3 separate regions of the Homo sapiens genome follow, and all the other regions are linked to region 2. The links are contacts of gene promoters, found by promoter capture Hi-C in blood cells and fetal thymus (Javierre and others, 2016). All regions are on one chromosome and are shown on one strand. The core of a region is centred on a gene start or on the middle of the fragment in contact, and the rest is flanking DNA. Distances in the headings are between cores, read along the strand shown. Region 1 holds the start of PNKP (polynucleotide kinase 3'-phosphatase). Region 2 holds the start of MBOAT7 (membrane bound acylglycerophosphatidylinositol O-acyltransferase MBOAT7). Region 3 holds the start of NAPSA (napsin A aspartic peptidase).

What was found. The method cuts DNA at HindIII sites, captures the fragments that hold promoters and counts their contacts. A CHiCAGO score of 5 or more calls a contact.
Region 1: the fragment with the promoter of PNKP here is called in contact with a fragment that was not itself captured in region 2 in 5 of 17 cell types (fetal thymus, erythroblasts, naive CD4 T cells and 2 more); the score reaches 11.1 in fetal thymus.
Region 3: the fragment with the promoter of NAPSA here is called in contact with a fragment that was not itself captured in region 2 in 1 of 17 cell types (total CD8 T cells); the score reaches 5.5 in total CD8 T cells.

The regions. Positions count from the first base shown.
Region 1 is chr19:49,866,326-49,870,842 of GRCh38, forward strand. It overlaps PNKP (polynucleotide kinase 3'-phosphatase), which reads right to left and starts at 1,251. Exons shown (of 17, transcript NM_007254.4): 1 at 1,144-1,251; 2 at 729-892; 3 at 74-120. The coding sequence starts at 879. It overlaps AKT1S1 (AKT1 substrate 1), which reads right to left. Exons shown (of 5, transcript NM_001098633.4): 5 at 2,714-3,735. The coding sequence ends at 3,592. RefSeq lists enhancers at 1-706, 707-1,488, 3,687-4,334 and silencers at 648-1,017, 1,088-1,387, 3,462-3,771. The HindIII fragment of the contact is 3,228 bases long and covers 1-1,641 here.
Region 2 is chr19:54,189,565-54,194,308 of GRCh38, forward strand. MBOAT7 (membrane bound acylglycerophosphatidylinositol O-acyltransferase MBOAT7) reads right to left here and starts at 16. Exons shown (of 8, transcript NM_024298.5): 1 at 1-16. It overlaps TSEN34 (tRNA splicing endonuclease subunit 34), which reads left to right and starts at 1,744. Exons shown (of 4, transcript NM_001077446.4): 1 at 1,744-2,043; 2 at 2,157-2,400; 3 at 2,552-2,809; 4 at 3,611-4,744. The coding sequence starts at 1,801. The coding sequence ends at 3,798. RefSeq lists enhancers at 1-29, 30-711, 2,680-3,196 and a silencer at 1,634-1,835. The HindIII fragment of the contact is 1,746 bases long and covers 378-2,123 here.
Region 3 is chr19:50,363,629-50,368,008 of GRCh38, forward strand. It overlaps NAPSA (napsin A aspartic peptidase), which reads right to left and starts at 2,011. Exons shown (of 9, transcript NM_004851.3): 1 at 1,911-2,011. The coding sequence starts at 1,993. The region is part of intron 3 of LOC105372437 (a long non-coding RNA gene); the gene reads left to right. RefSeq lists an enhancer at 2,212-2,361. The HindIII fragment of the contact is 17,836 bases long and covers 176-4,380 here.

The sequences.
Region 1 (4,517 bases), core at 1-2,500, 4.3 Mb before region 2:
TTCACTGACGGCTTGCAATTCCTCCCCAAATCCCATCCCCAGGCCTTGCTGGCCCTTGCAGAGGCACTGATACCTGTTTCACTGCCACTGTCCGGGTCTCAGGATCTGCGACCAGCTCCACTGAGGATTGGAGGGGTGGAGTCAGGATTTGCATCCTTGTGTGATTGGGTCCCTCATTTCTGGGGAGTGTGGCCTGCTTCAGGCTATAGCATCCAGGGAGTAAGAGGCAGTTTATTTCTACATGGGATTGGCTCCTTGACATGCAGTAGCCAGATAGTGGCACTAGGATTGCCTGACACTGGTCCTTGCAAGGGACAGGGAGGTACTTTTCTCTACAGAATTGGTTTCCTCCTTGACAAAAAATGTGGCTAGATATAGGTCCGGGGCTTGGCCTGTTACCATCCATCCCAACCTAGCGACATTTACTTTTCTCCACAGGATCATTTTTCTCTTGACGAAGGTCGTCGCCTGTTTCTGGATTTCCCGATGGCCTGAGCATCATCCGCGCAGTGAACATCCTCCCTAAATCGGCTCGATCCCCTCTCCCCCAAAGGATCTAGCTAATTCTAAATCAAGCACAAACTTTATCTTCCTGTACTCCCTAGAGAGCACCTTCCGACTTCGGGGCTGGCTGCACCACTGCAATCCCGCGTAGCAGCCAAGCGTCCCTCTGGATTGTTCCCGCTTTTGCAGCAGGCCACACCCCCTCCAGCTCAGGCCCCGCTCACCTTGAGTTCTGGAGCACTTCCGGTCCGTAACCTGGGTCAGGGGTCCCCTGCCCAGGACCAGGGCTTGCCCGTCCGAGGGCAGGAAGATGGGGGGCGCTCCCCCAGGGGGGCTCTCGAGCCACAAGCGGCCCGGGGCCTCCACCTCGCCCATCCTGGGTGCCGGCCTGGGGAGCAGGTAAACGGGCTTGAGCGGCGCACAGCCCCAATTTGCTGCAGGAAGTCCCGCCTCCTCCCACATCCACTAGAAAGTTTCCCCACCATTAACTGCTCCGGAAGTCCCACCCGCTCGCCTTCCGCGGGTCGACCCGTTTCCCAGGCGACGACGCGTGCTCCATCCCTCCCCGAGTTGCAATCCCCACTTTCCAGCGTACAGGCAGAGAGCCTCGCACATGCCTCCGCCCCGCCCCGTACTCACCCGGGACCGCGGCTTGGGCTCACGGCCACTTCCGACCAGGGAGGTCCTGCCCGAGGTGCCCCGCCTGCAACCCGGCCGGCGGCGGTCGGTTCCTCGGCGGACGGAAATGACTCGTCCCCTCGTGGGTGGGGGGCGGGGCCTGGCCTCCTCCCACAGCAGCCACGCCCCTTCCCCGACTCCCGGCCCCCAGGGTCTCTCGGCAGCCCTGACCTTCATCTCTCTTGCTGCAACGCGAGGCTCAGGCCGGTAGCGGGGACTGGATCCTCCGTTAGCAGATTTGCCTCTTTCCACCTTGACTTCTAATTTTCATCCCAGGGAGGAAGATTTTTTTCCCATCTGATGGTCATTGTCAGTCGAGGAAACCTCCGCCCCCGACAGCGCCCCTAAGTCCTTCTTTGGCTTCACCCTCGATGTTCTAGTTTCCTCATCTATAAAAAGGATAATCGTTTCCGCTTCGTGGGGTTACCATGACGATTAAAGGAGCTAACACGTGACAAAAGCTTTAAAAAATGGGTGGTAGTGAGCCCTGTTTAAGTCTTTTTTTTTTTTTTTTTTTGAGACGGAGTCTCACTCTGTCGCCCAGGCTGGAGTGCAGTGGCGCGATCTCGGCTCACCTGCAAGCTCCGCCTCCCGGGTTGACGCCATTCTCCTGTCTCAGCCTCCCGAGTAGCTGGGACTACAGGCGCCCGCCACCACGCCCAGCTAATTTTTTGTATTTTGAGTAGAGACGGGGTTTCACCGTGTTAGCCAGGACGGTCTCGATCTCCTGATCTCGTGATCCGCCCACCTCGGCCTCCCAAAGTGCTCAGATCCGTTTAAGTCTTATTTAGTGTTAGCATTCTTTCGGTAGTGGTCTGGTGGGACTACGTTTACCTAGTCCTAATTTCGGACGAGGTTCCACCTGCTTTCTAACCTCCAGCCATTTTTTTTTCCCTTTGGAGAAGGGGTCTCACTGTGCTGCCCAGGCTGATCTCGACCTCCTGGTGTCATGTGATCCTCCCGCCTTGGCCTCCCAGCGTGTTGGGCTTATAGGCGTGAGGCACCAAGCCCAGTTGCTCCAGTCCTTTTATAATAGAAGACTCCCGGCTGGAGTTCCTGGCTTTGCTGGTGAATATGTGGGCTCTGTCTCCAACACTCACCTCCTCAAGATTGGGTTCCATGGTCACATAAGACTGGGATGCTCTCCTCCACCCCATGAACCTGTGTCTTCATATCTATAAAATGGGCACAAAGCCAGGCGCCGTGGCTCACGCCTGTAATCCCAGCACTTTGGGAGGCCAAGGCGGGTGGATCATTTGAGGTCAGGAGTTCAAGACCATCCTGACCAACATGATGAAACCCTGTTTCTACTGAAAATACAAAAATTACCCGGGCGGCAGTGGCGCGTAATCCCAGCTACTCGGGAGGTTGAGGCAGGAGAATCGCTTGAACCTGGGCGAGAGTGGGACCCTGTCTCAAAAAAGTAAATAAAATGGGCACAGTAATTCCAACCCCCAGCTATTCACTGATAATCAGACGCTGCCATTCGGTTTCAGAAAATGTTGAATGAACACTCACAACACACTTCACATTTATCTCAGAGGTAAAACTCTTTAATCTCAGAGCGCCCCTCCCAACTGCCGATCCCCCAACCCCTCACTCTCTCCCCCACACCAGGGCCGGAGAGTGAGGGCCCCTGCCCCCCACCTTGGGTGGACGAGGGCCCTTTAAGGCACCTGTGGAGGTGGGGGGCGAGGGGCGGGAGCTGGTACCATCCTGGATGCAGGGACGGGCTTCGATTGGCAGGCTGTTGTGGGGATGGATGGAACCAATGAAAGGGGGTGCCAGAGGCAGGGACAGTTTGGGGCCATCCCTGAGGGGGTCAGGGAACAAGTTGTCGGGACGTGGGCAAAGACGACCCCAGTCCCCGTAGTGTAAAGAACGTAAATTGAAGGCCCCGGGCCAATTCTGGGAAGAGGAGGGCTTGGCCACGCCCCCAGGAAGCTGGAGCCAATTGGGAGGGAGAACTCAGGAAAAGCGGACGGTGACTATGTAGAGACTGGTCAAGCCCTTTACAGGATTTGAGCCAATCAAAAAAAGAGCTGTCCAGCGACTAGGGGATGGAGCCAATGCCGTGCGAGCAAATCCCTTGTCGCTAGGCGGAAAACAAAGGAGTTGACCCATTTAGAGCTTAGAACTCAGCGAGCCAATCCCTTAATAGAAGGAATCTGTCGCTAGGCGGAGAGAGACGACAGACCCAATCGGGAAACGGGACAGATGCCGCTCCTCGGCGCGGCAGGTCGTGGGCTGGAAGGACGGCGGGGATTGGCAGAGGCGGGACAATCTTGGGAATGGGAGACGCAAGGAGGCCGGTCCCGGATCGGCCTCAGATTAGCAGGCCCCGGGAGTGGGGCGGGGGCGTAGTGTGGGACGGGGCGGACGCGGCCCGGGGCGCTCCCTCCCTGGACTTCAATATTTCCGCTTCAGCTTCTGGAAGTCGCTGGTGTTAAGCCGCGGCCGTGGCAGGTCCCCGAAGACCTGGGTGTCCTCGGCCTCTCGCAGCACCAGCGCGCGCATGCTCGCCGCGATGCGGTCCAGGTCGGGCGAAGAGGGCTGCGGGGACGGCGACGGGGCGAGGTCAGCGCCGGCAGGGCAATCCCCCTGCACCCACACGCGGTCCAGGGGTGCACCCGGGCTCCAAGCCCACTTCTAGCACGTCCCTGCCCTGCCACCTGTGCCCTGCGATGCCCACTGCCAGCAGTGCCCCTCCCCGTCTTGCTCCACGTAGGAACCCTTCTACCCGGTTCAGACACCTCCTCCACGAAGCCTACCTGCCCCTCTCCCTCTCCCCTTCTTGGCCTAGGACATTGCTTCCTACACAGTGGAAGTGCTGTTGCCTGCTAGCCATTAAGGCTGAGTGCACCGTCTCATGTCTGAGGATCTGGGCTGGGGTTTCAGTCATGTTCCAATCAGACCTCTGCCGCTGACAAACTATGAGCAAGAGGTTTTGCTTCCCTAGGCCTCAGTCTCCCCTTCTGAAAAATGGGGCGGATAACAGGGTCTCTGTGAGGGCTGAGATAATCAGCTGTTACTGCCTTATCATGTGGCCACTGCGCTACAGAAAAGATCCCTCGCTGTGTCAGCCCCCGCCAAGGAGCCTGCAGTTCTGGCACCTAGTACTGCCTCCACTACAGCCCCCGTCACCCGGAGCTGGGCCTGTCCCCTCGCAGGATGGGACCCGGAGACCCAGATCAGGAACTGGACCTGAGCCCAGTGGGAGACCAGCCCCCGGGCACAGCACGCAAGAGGCCAGAGCATTCAATTAACTGTGTTGCCATGAGTCGCAAGCACAGAGAGCAGCAGCAGGTGGACCCCGCCCGCACCAGGCCCTGTTC
Region 2 (4,744 bases), core at 1-2,500:
AGTCCAGGTCCACACTGGGATCCGAGCTCCGAGTACGTGAAGGGGCGGGCCTTCGGGCTCGGAACAAGGAGGAGCCAAAAGCTTTGGACCCGAAGGGGAACAGACGGGCTCTGGAAAGGAGGCGGGGTCTGGAGCTCGGCGTGAGGAATGAGGCGGGGTCTCCCTTCGGGTTCCTTCGGGCACAATCGGGAGCTTGAGTTCTCCGGAAGCGGGGCCACAAACTTCGGCTCACTTCGGCAATAGTCGAGAACGGAGAGCTGAGGCCACTGTGGGCGGAGCCACATGTTTCGGCTTTCTTCGGAGGTAGTCGAGTCCTTAGGGTCACTGTTCCGATGTGGGCGGGGCCACAGACTCGGCCGGATGTGGGTGGGGCCACAAGCTTCGGTTTACTTCGTAGATAGTTGGGTACAAGTGACGCTAGGATGATAGGCGGAGTCAACAGGTTCGCCAGACACCCATGAGTATTTACAAGGGGGCGGGGCGAAAGCGACTTGCCCTCAAAGGGGCGGAACCCCGAGGGCCGGCGTGCGCCTACGGGACCGGGCCAGGATGACGATCCTCAAGTTCCCAAGTAGAGGAGAGGAAGCGGCAGAGGGAGGTGCGCTCAGTGGGGCGGAGCCAAGGTGGCCCCCGCGGGAGGAGGGCGGGGCTTCGGTCCTGCGAGGGGCGGGACCTGACTTCCCGCGGCGCTGATGGGGCGGGATGACGAAGTTGACGAGGGTGTCGGCATGAGGGGGTGGAGCAAGGAGCGCGTGGCGCGGTGCGCAGTGGGTGGCTCCACCTCGACTGCGAATTACTGTTTATGAGGTGACTCGCTGGTTCTATCGGTGGACAGTGGGACATTCTGAAGGGAGGCAAGGAGGCGGACTGAGCGCTCCCAATTGGGGTGAGCCCGCCCGAGCGGAGAGTGGACGGCGGGTGTCCAGGGGGCGGGGCTTTCGGCTGTGGGGTTCGGTCGTAGGGCGGGAACTCCCCAACTGGGGTGCGCTGGCGCTCGGAGGGGGCGGGGCCACAGGCCGCGAGGCTGCCGGGAGCCGATGACGCCCGAACGCCGAACCTATTGCGTCCGGGAGGAGGCGGGGCTACGGATTCGGCCGAGCCGAGAACACCCGAACGTCAAATTGCTGGCGTTCGAGAAGGGGGCGGGGCTGCGGATTCGGTGGAGCCGAGGACGCCCGAACGCCGAACTTCCTGTGCTCGGGAGGGGGCAGGGTTTTGTACTGTGGGAGTCTGAGAGCGAGGAGGTCCGAAAGCCGAATCACAGTCGTTCGGAAAGAGGAGGAGCGAAGGCTCGAGCGTCCGGAAGAGGGTGTGGCCTCGGCGGTGCCTTAGCCTCCAGAGCTTCTGACCGCTGACGGGAACACCCGAAGGGGGACGCCCACTTTGCAAGAGGGTGGTGCCAAAATGGACCTTTGTAAGGGGGCGTGTCGCCGCGCTTGCGGAGGTTTGTTTTTCACGCTCCAAGGCGCAATGGTAGGTACGGCAGTGCGGGCACAGAGCGGGTGCCGACCGCAGGGTCACAAGGGTAGAGCGGGACCCTGGGGGCTTGGCGAGGGGAGAGGGTCGGGGGCTTGTCTCCGGCGTCTCGTCTCCGGCGGCCGCGAGGCCTGGTGGGATCGCCCGGGGGCGGGGCCTGGCGCTCGGGCCCAGCAGGTGGTGAACGGCGGCTGAGCGAGGCCCCGCCCCCTGAGGCCTAGGGGCGGGGCTTCGCCGAGACCCCGGAGGCTTTGGGTGCGCTGCAGCGGTCCGCGGCGCGCAGCTGTTTCGGTAACTGCTTTGCCTCCCGGCTCCCGCAGGAGGATGCTGGTGGTGGAGGTGGCGAACGGCCGCTCCCTGGTGTGGGGAGCCGAGGCGGTGCAGGCCCTCCGGGAGCGCCTGGGTGTGGGGGGCCGCACGGTAGGCGCCCTGCCCCGCGGGCCCCGCCAGAACTCGCGCCTGGGCCTCCCGCTGCTGCTGATGCCCGAAGAGGCGCGGCTCTTGGCCGAGATCGGCGCCGTGACTCTGGTCAGCGCCCCGCGTCCAGACTCTCGGCACCACAGCCTGGTAAGGGGGCGGGGCTCGAACTCGGGTTCGGTGGGAGCGGGACCTGGGAGTCAAGTTTCCTGGCTTCTGAAGGGACCATAAGCTTGGAGGTTCCAGCGAAGTGTGCTTCTCAGGCCCTGACATCCTTCAAGCGCCAGCAAGAGGAGAGCTTCCAGGAGCAGAGCGCCTTGGCAGCTGAGGCCCGGGAGACCCGTCGTCAGGAGCTCCTGGAGAAGATTACGGAGGGCCAGGCTGCTAAGAAGCAGAAACTAGAACAGGCTTCAGGGGCCAGCTCAAGCCAGGAGGCCGGCTCGAGCCAGGCTGCCAAAGAGGATGAGACCAGTGATGGCCAGGCTTCGGGAGAGCAGGAGGAAGCTGGTGAGCATGGGAGGTGGAGTCCAGGGACCACGGGAAGGAGAGGAGAGATCTTTTAGGAATTTTAGCTGGGAATCCAGTGCCTGGGTCTCCCTGAGGGTGAGAAGACTTTACCCCTTGAATTTACCAAACTCTTCTCTGTACTCCCCACCAGGCCCCTCGTCTTCCCAAGCAGGACCCTCAAATGGGGTAGCCCCCTTGCCCAGATCTGCTCTCCTTGTCCAGCTGGCCACTGCCAGGCCTCGACCGGTCAAGGCCAGGCCCCTGGACTGGCGTGTCCAGTCTAAAGACTGGCCCCACGCCGGCCGCCCTGCCCACGAGCTGCGCTACAGTATCTACAGAGACCTGTGGGAGCGAGGCTTCTTCCTCAGTGCGGCTGGCAAGTTCGGAGGTGACTTCCTGGTCTATCCTGGTGAGTATGGGTTGGGGCCTCTGGTTGCTGTGCCTTTCCATACGATCCCAATGTATTCTGCGTTTTTCTTTTTTTTTTTTTTTGTCTTAATAGAGGTGGGGTCTCTTGTTGCTTAGGCTGGTCCCTATTCCTGGGCTCAAGCAATCCTTCCACCTCGGCCCCCCAAAGTGCTGGAATTATAGGCCCAGCTGCATTTTTCTTTTTTGTCTCACTTTCTCTTAGCCTCTGAAATTCATAGACAGACAGGAAACATTTGGGAGCTCCCGAACTCATTGGGCAAGCAGTTTAACGACTTTTATTAAATGATTACTGTGATCCAGAAGATTCACTTAGAAGTAGTTAGACATCAGGCTGGGCGCAATGGCTCACGCCTGTAATCCCAACACTTTGGGAGGCCAAGACAGGTGGATCACCTGAGGTCAGGAGTTTGATACCAGTCTGGCCAACATGGTGAAACCCCATCTCTACTAAAAATACTAAAACTAACTGGGCGTGGTGGTGGGTGCCTGTATTTCCAGCTACTCGGGAGGCTGAAGCAGGAGAATCATGTGAACCCAGGGGGCAGAGGTTGTAGTGAGCCAAGATCGTGCCATTGCACTCCAGCCTGGGGGACAAGAGCGAGACTTTGTCTCAAAAAAAAAAAAAAAGCCTAGAAGTGGAATAGTTGTGTCCAAGAGCATCTGTTTTAGAGTATCTATAGTGATGGCTGAAATGATCTCAGATCTCCTCCCAGTGGTCGTTCCCGTGGCGTCCAGCCGTCTGCCATTGGTCACTGCTTCAGTGCCTCTCTCCTTCCCCCAGGTGACCCCCTCCGCTTCCACGCCCATTATATCGCTCAGTGCTGGGCCCCTGAGGACACCATCCCACTCCAAGACCTGGTTGCTGCTGGGCGCCTTGGAACCAGCGTCAGAAAGACCCTGCTCCTCTGTTCTCCGCAGCCTGATGGTAAGGTGGTCTACACCTCCCTGCAATGGGCCAGCCTGCAGTGAACTCCAGAGACCTAGGGGATGTGGCTGTGTCGGCAGCAAGAGCCTTTCTGGATGTTCCCCAGCTCTTCTCTGGGAGTCTAGAACATCCTCCTACCTTTCTCCGCGGTTAGTTTTTGATTCCAGGTTTTCGAACACTACATCTTTTTTATGTTCTTCCTTGTTTCAAAGCACTTATTGGCTGTGTTTTTGTAGTTACCTATTTTCACACTGTGAGCTTCCCGAGAATGGGGCCTGGGTTTGATTCATCTGTTTTCTACAGGGTTTAAGTCTCAGGAGGTCTCAATAAACTTGGTATATAAATGTTCATGATTTGAATGTTTGCGACAGTCCTGGAACCCGTGGATGGTCTCATCTGCATGTACAGGTGAGAAAAAGGCCTGGAGGAGGGGGACTGACTTGCCCAAAGTCACACACTTAGTAAATAGCAGGCCTGGCCTTTCAAAATTGGTTTTTCTGACTCCTAAATCTGCACTCTTTCTACCTCACTAAACTTCCTTTTGAAAAGATTTCTATGAAATTTCCCAGATGCATACAAACGTTATAAATAAAAATATAGGCTGGGCACGATGACCCACACCTGTAATCCCACAGAACTTTTGGAGGCCAAGGCAGGGGGATCGCTTGAGCCCAGGAGTTTGAGACCAGCTCTGGCAACATTGTAATACCCAGTCTCTACAAAAAATAATTTAAAAAAAAATTAGCCAGGGATCCCTTGAGCCTGGGAAGTTGAGGCTGCTGTGAGCTGTGATTGCACCACTGCCCTCCAGCCTGGGAGACAGAGCAAGAACCTGTCTCAAAAAATATATATATGTGTGTGTGTATATATGTAAATATACACACATGTATGTATATATATGTGTGTGTATATATATATATATTATGAAAGGAAATGAGTATTGTAATTTTAGGAGTTCAGAGCCTGGGGAGAAAGGAAGGACTCTGGAAG
Region 3 (4,380 bases), core at 761-3,260, 3.8 Mb before region 2:
CATAGCCCACTGCCCCCTCGAACTACTGGGCTCAAGCAATCCTCCTTCCTCACCCTCCTGAACTAGCTGGGACCATGGGTGTGCACCACCACACTGAGCTAATTTTTGTATTTTTTGTAGAGGTGGAGTCTGGCCATGTTGCCCAGGCTGGTCTCAAAACTCTTGGCCTCAAACAAGCTTCCCACCTTGGACTTCCAAAGTGCTGGGTTACAGGTGTGAGCCATGTCTCTGGCCAAAAACATGACTTCTTCAGGCCAGTTTGATGGGCGTGATGTGGGGGAGTCTCAGTTTAAATGTCACATATCTGGGGCTCGAAGATGGGAGGAGTGTGTCACAGGTCTGGAAACCACAGTACCTAATCATCAGAGCTCATAGTAGGGTCTGCAGAGACCTCTCAAAAACATGTCCTGGCCAGGCGCAGTGGCTCACGCCTGTAATCCCAGCACTTTGGGAGGCTGAGGCAGGCAGATCACGAAGTCAGGAGTTCAAGACCAGCTTGGCCAACATGGTGAAACCTCATCTCTACTAAAGATACAAAAAAAATTAGCCGGGCATGGTGACTCACGCCTGTAATCCCAGCACTTTCAGAGGCAGGAGAATGGTGTCAGCCTGGGAGGTGGAGGTTGCAGTGAGCTGAGATCGCGCCATTGCACTCCAGCCTGGGCGACAGGGCAAGACTCCGTCTCAAAAAAAAAAAAAAAAAAAGGCCAGGCGCGGTGGCTTACGCCTGTAATCCCAGCACTTTGCGAGGCTGAGGTGGGTGGATCACGAGGTCAGGAGATCGAGACCATCCTGGCTAACACTGTGAAACCCCATCTCTACTAAAAATACAAAAAATTAGCCGGGCGTGGTGGCGGGTGCCTGTAGTCCCAGCTGCTTGGGAGGCTGAGGCAGGAGAATGATGTGAACCCGGGGGACAGAGCTTGCAGTGAGCCAAGATTGCGCCACTGCACTCCAGCCTGGGCAACAGAGTGAGACTCAGTCTCAAAAAAAAAAAAAAAAAAAAAGTCCTGAGAGGAGGGGGAGGGGTCCTCAATCTAGAGTCTCAGTGTTGTAAGATCTGGGACTTAAAAGGGCTCTGGGACCGGACGCGGGGGCTCACAGCTGTAACCACAGCACTTTTGGAGGCTGAGGCGGAAAGATCACTTGAGGTCAGGAGTTCAAGACAGCCTGGCAAACATGGCGAAACCCCATCTCTACTAAAAATACAAAAATTAGCCGGGCGTGGTGGCATGTGCCTGTAGTCCCAGCTACTTGGGAGGCTGAGGCAGGAGAATCACTTGAACCCGGGAGGCAGAGGTTGCAGTGAGCTGAGATCGCCCCACTGCACTCCAGCCTGGGTAACAGAGCAAGACTCTGTCTCAAATAATAATAATAATAATAAATAATAATAATAATAATAATAATAATAAAAGGGCTCTGGTCAGCCAGGCGCGGTGGCTCACGCCTGTAATCCCAGCACTTTGGGAGGCCGAGGTGAGCGGATCACGAGGTCAGGGGTTCCAGACCAGCCTGGCCAACATGGTGAAACCCCGTCTCTACTAAAAATACAAAAATTAGCTGAGCATGGTGGCGCGAGCCTGTAATCCCAGCTACTTGGGAAGCTGAGGCAGGAGAATCGCTTGAACCCAGGAGGCAGAGGTTTCAGTGAGCTGAGATCATGCCATTGCACTCCAGCCTGGGCAACAGAGTGAGACTCCATCTCAAAAAAAAGAAATCTGGTCTTAAGAGATGTCAGAGTGGAGCCCTTAGGGGTGACAGCCTGGTTTAGAGATCTGGAAAGCTGAGAAAGAAGCTCTAGGGATCCTGGGTGCCAAGTTTGGGGATCACTGAACTGGGAGTCCTAGACTTAAAGGGCAAGAGGCAGAAAATCCCTCCTAAGGTTGGGGTGGTAGATGGGGTCACCATACCGGATCAGTGTGGCCCCGGAAGGCTCCACATTCAGCAGAGGCAGCAGCAGCAGCAGGGGTTGCAGCAGCGGTGGTGGAGACATCGCTGGGGACCTGGGTGTGAACCCAGGTGTCCTGGGGCCTCATTTTCTTTCCCCTGTGACTCCACCCTGTTCATGCCCCACCTCCAGGTTTAGAAGGAGACCAGGACATGAAATCTGTCCGCAGGTGACGCAGTGGGACAAGGATGTTTTTTGAAGATTTGTGCAGAGTATTTTTGTAGGGTTGGCAGAAGTAGCATCCTGTGCTCCTGGTGCTCCTCACTCCCTACTTGGGTGGCAGTGGTGGTGGGGTCTCCTCCACCGTCACCACCTCCCACCCCCCCATCCTTCAGCTGCTGTCAGTTTTACTTTTAACTTTCACATAACTTTTCTGAGACTTATTAACCACAAGTGTTTCCTTGGCCAAGTGGGAGAGACCAGCAGGTATCTGTGAAGGGCCTGGGGGAAGGGAGAAAGGACATGATTAGACACCTGCCCTCACATATGAAGTGGGCCCGCATTTCAGGACCCAGTCTCTTACTGTTTTATTTGTAGGTGAAGTATGTTTCTTGTTGACAACAGATCATTGGGTATTGTTTTTTGTTTGTTTGTTTTTGTTTTTGTTTTTTGGTTTTTTTTTTTTTGAGACCGAGTTTCACTCTTGTTGCCCAGGCTGGGATTACAGGCATGCGCAACCACGCCCCACTAATTTTGTAGTTTTAGTAGAGACAGGGTTTCTCCATGTTGGTCAGGCTGGTCTAGAACTCCCGACCTCAGGTGATCCGCCCGCCTCAGCCTCCTAAAGTGCTGGGATTACAGGCGTGAGCCACTGCACCCAGCTGATTCTCAATTATTTCAATCTCTTTGTTAAATTTATGTGATGGAATCTGAATTCCTTCTGTGTGTTAGCTTGAATTTCTTTGAGTTTCCTCAAAACAGCTATTTTAAATTCTCTGTCGGAAAGGTCACATATCTCTGTTTCTTCAAGGATTGGTCCTTGGTGGCTTATTTGATTTGTTTGGTAAGGTCATTTATTCTGGATGGCCTTGATGCTTATAGATGTTCATTGGTGGCTGGGCATTGATGAGTTATTTATTTATTTATTTATTTATTTATTTATTTATTTATTTAGATGGAGTTTTGCTCTTGTTGCCCAAGCTGCAGTGCAATGGTGTGATCTCAGCTCACTGCAACCTCTGCCTCCCAGGTGCAAGTAATTCTGCCTCAGCCTCCCGAGTAGCTGGGACTACAGGCACCCGATACCACCCTGGCTAAATTTTTTTTTTTTTTTTGAGATGGAGTTTCACTCTTATTGCCTAGGCTGGAGTGTAATGGCGCCATCTTGGCTCACTGCAACCTCTGCCTCCTGAGTTCAAGCGATTGTCCTGTCTCAGCCTCCCAAGTAGCTGGGATTATAGGCGCATGCCAGCTAGTTTTTGTATTTTTAGTAAAGACAGGGTTTCATCATATTGGTCAGGCTGGTCTCGAACTCCTGACCTCAGGTGATCCACCTGCCTCGGCCTCCCAAAGTGCTGGGATTACAGGCATGAGCCACCGCACCCAGCCTACACCCAGCTAATTTTTGTATTTTTAGAAGAGACAGGGTTTCACCATGTTGTCTAGCCTGGTCTCAAACTCCTGACCTCAGGTGATCTTCCTGCTTCAGCCTCCCAAAATGCTGGGATTAGACATGAGCCACCATGCCTGGCCATGTTAGGTATTTATTGTAGTCTTTGCAGACAAGGCTTGTTTGTACCTGTCCTTTTTGGGGAGGCTTTCCAGGTATTCAAAAGTACTTGGGTGTTGTGATCTAAGCCATGTCTGCATTAGGGGGCTCCCCAAGCCCATTAATGCTGTGGTTCTTGCAAACTCATAGAGGTACTATCTTAGTGGTCTTAGATAAGATCCAGAAGATTTATCTGGATTACCAGGCAGAGACTCTTGCTCTCTTCCCTTGCTTTCTCTCAAACAGAGTCAGTCTCTCTCTCTCCCTCTCTCTCTCTCTCTCTCTCTCTCTCTCTCTGTCTCTGTCTCTCTCTCTCTGCTGAGCTACCTGGAGCTGGGAGTGGGGTGACACAAACACCCCATGCCTACTATCACTGGGATTGCGCTGGGTCCTGCCCATGGCCTCCTGTAACCACGACCTACCTGCCTACTGCTTATGTTTGCTCAAGGCCCTTGGGCTCTAAAACTAGCAGGTTCCAAAGGCAGCCATGCTTGCATCCTTCCCTTCAGGGCATCAAGTTACCTCAGGTCCCAGGTGGGTCCAGAGATACAGTCAGTGAGCCAGGGACTGGAGTCAAAACCCTTAGAAATCGGCTGGATGCGGTAACTCATGCCTGTAATCCCAGCACTTTAGGAGGCTGAGGCAGGCGGATCACTTGAGGTCAGGAGTTCGAGGCCAGTCTGGCCAACATGGTGAAACCCTGTCTCTACTAAAAATACAAAAA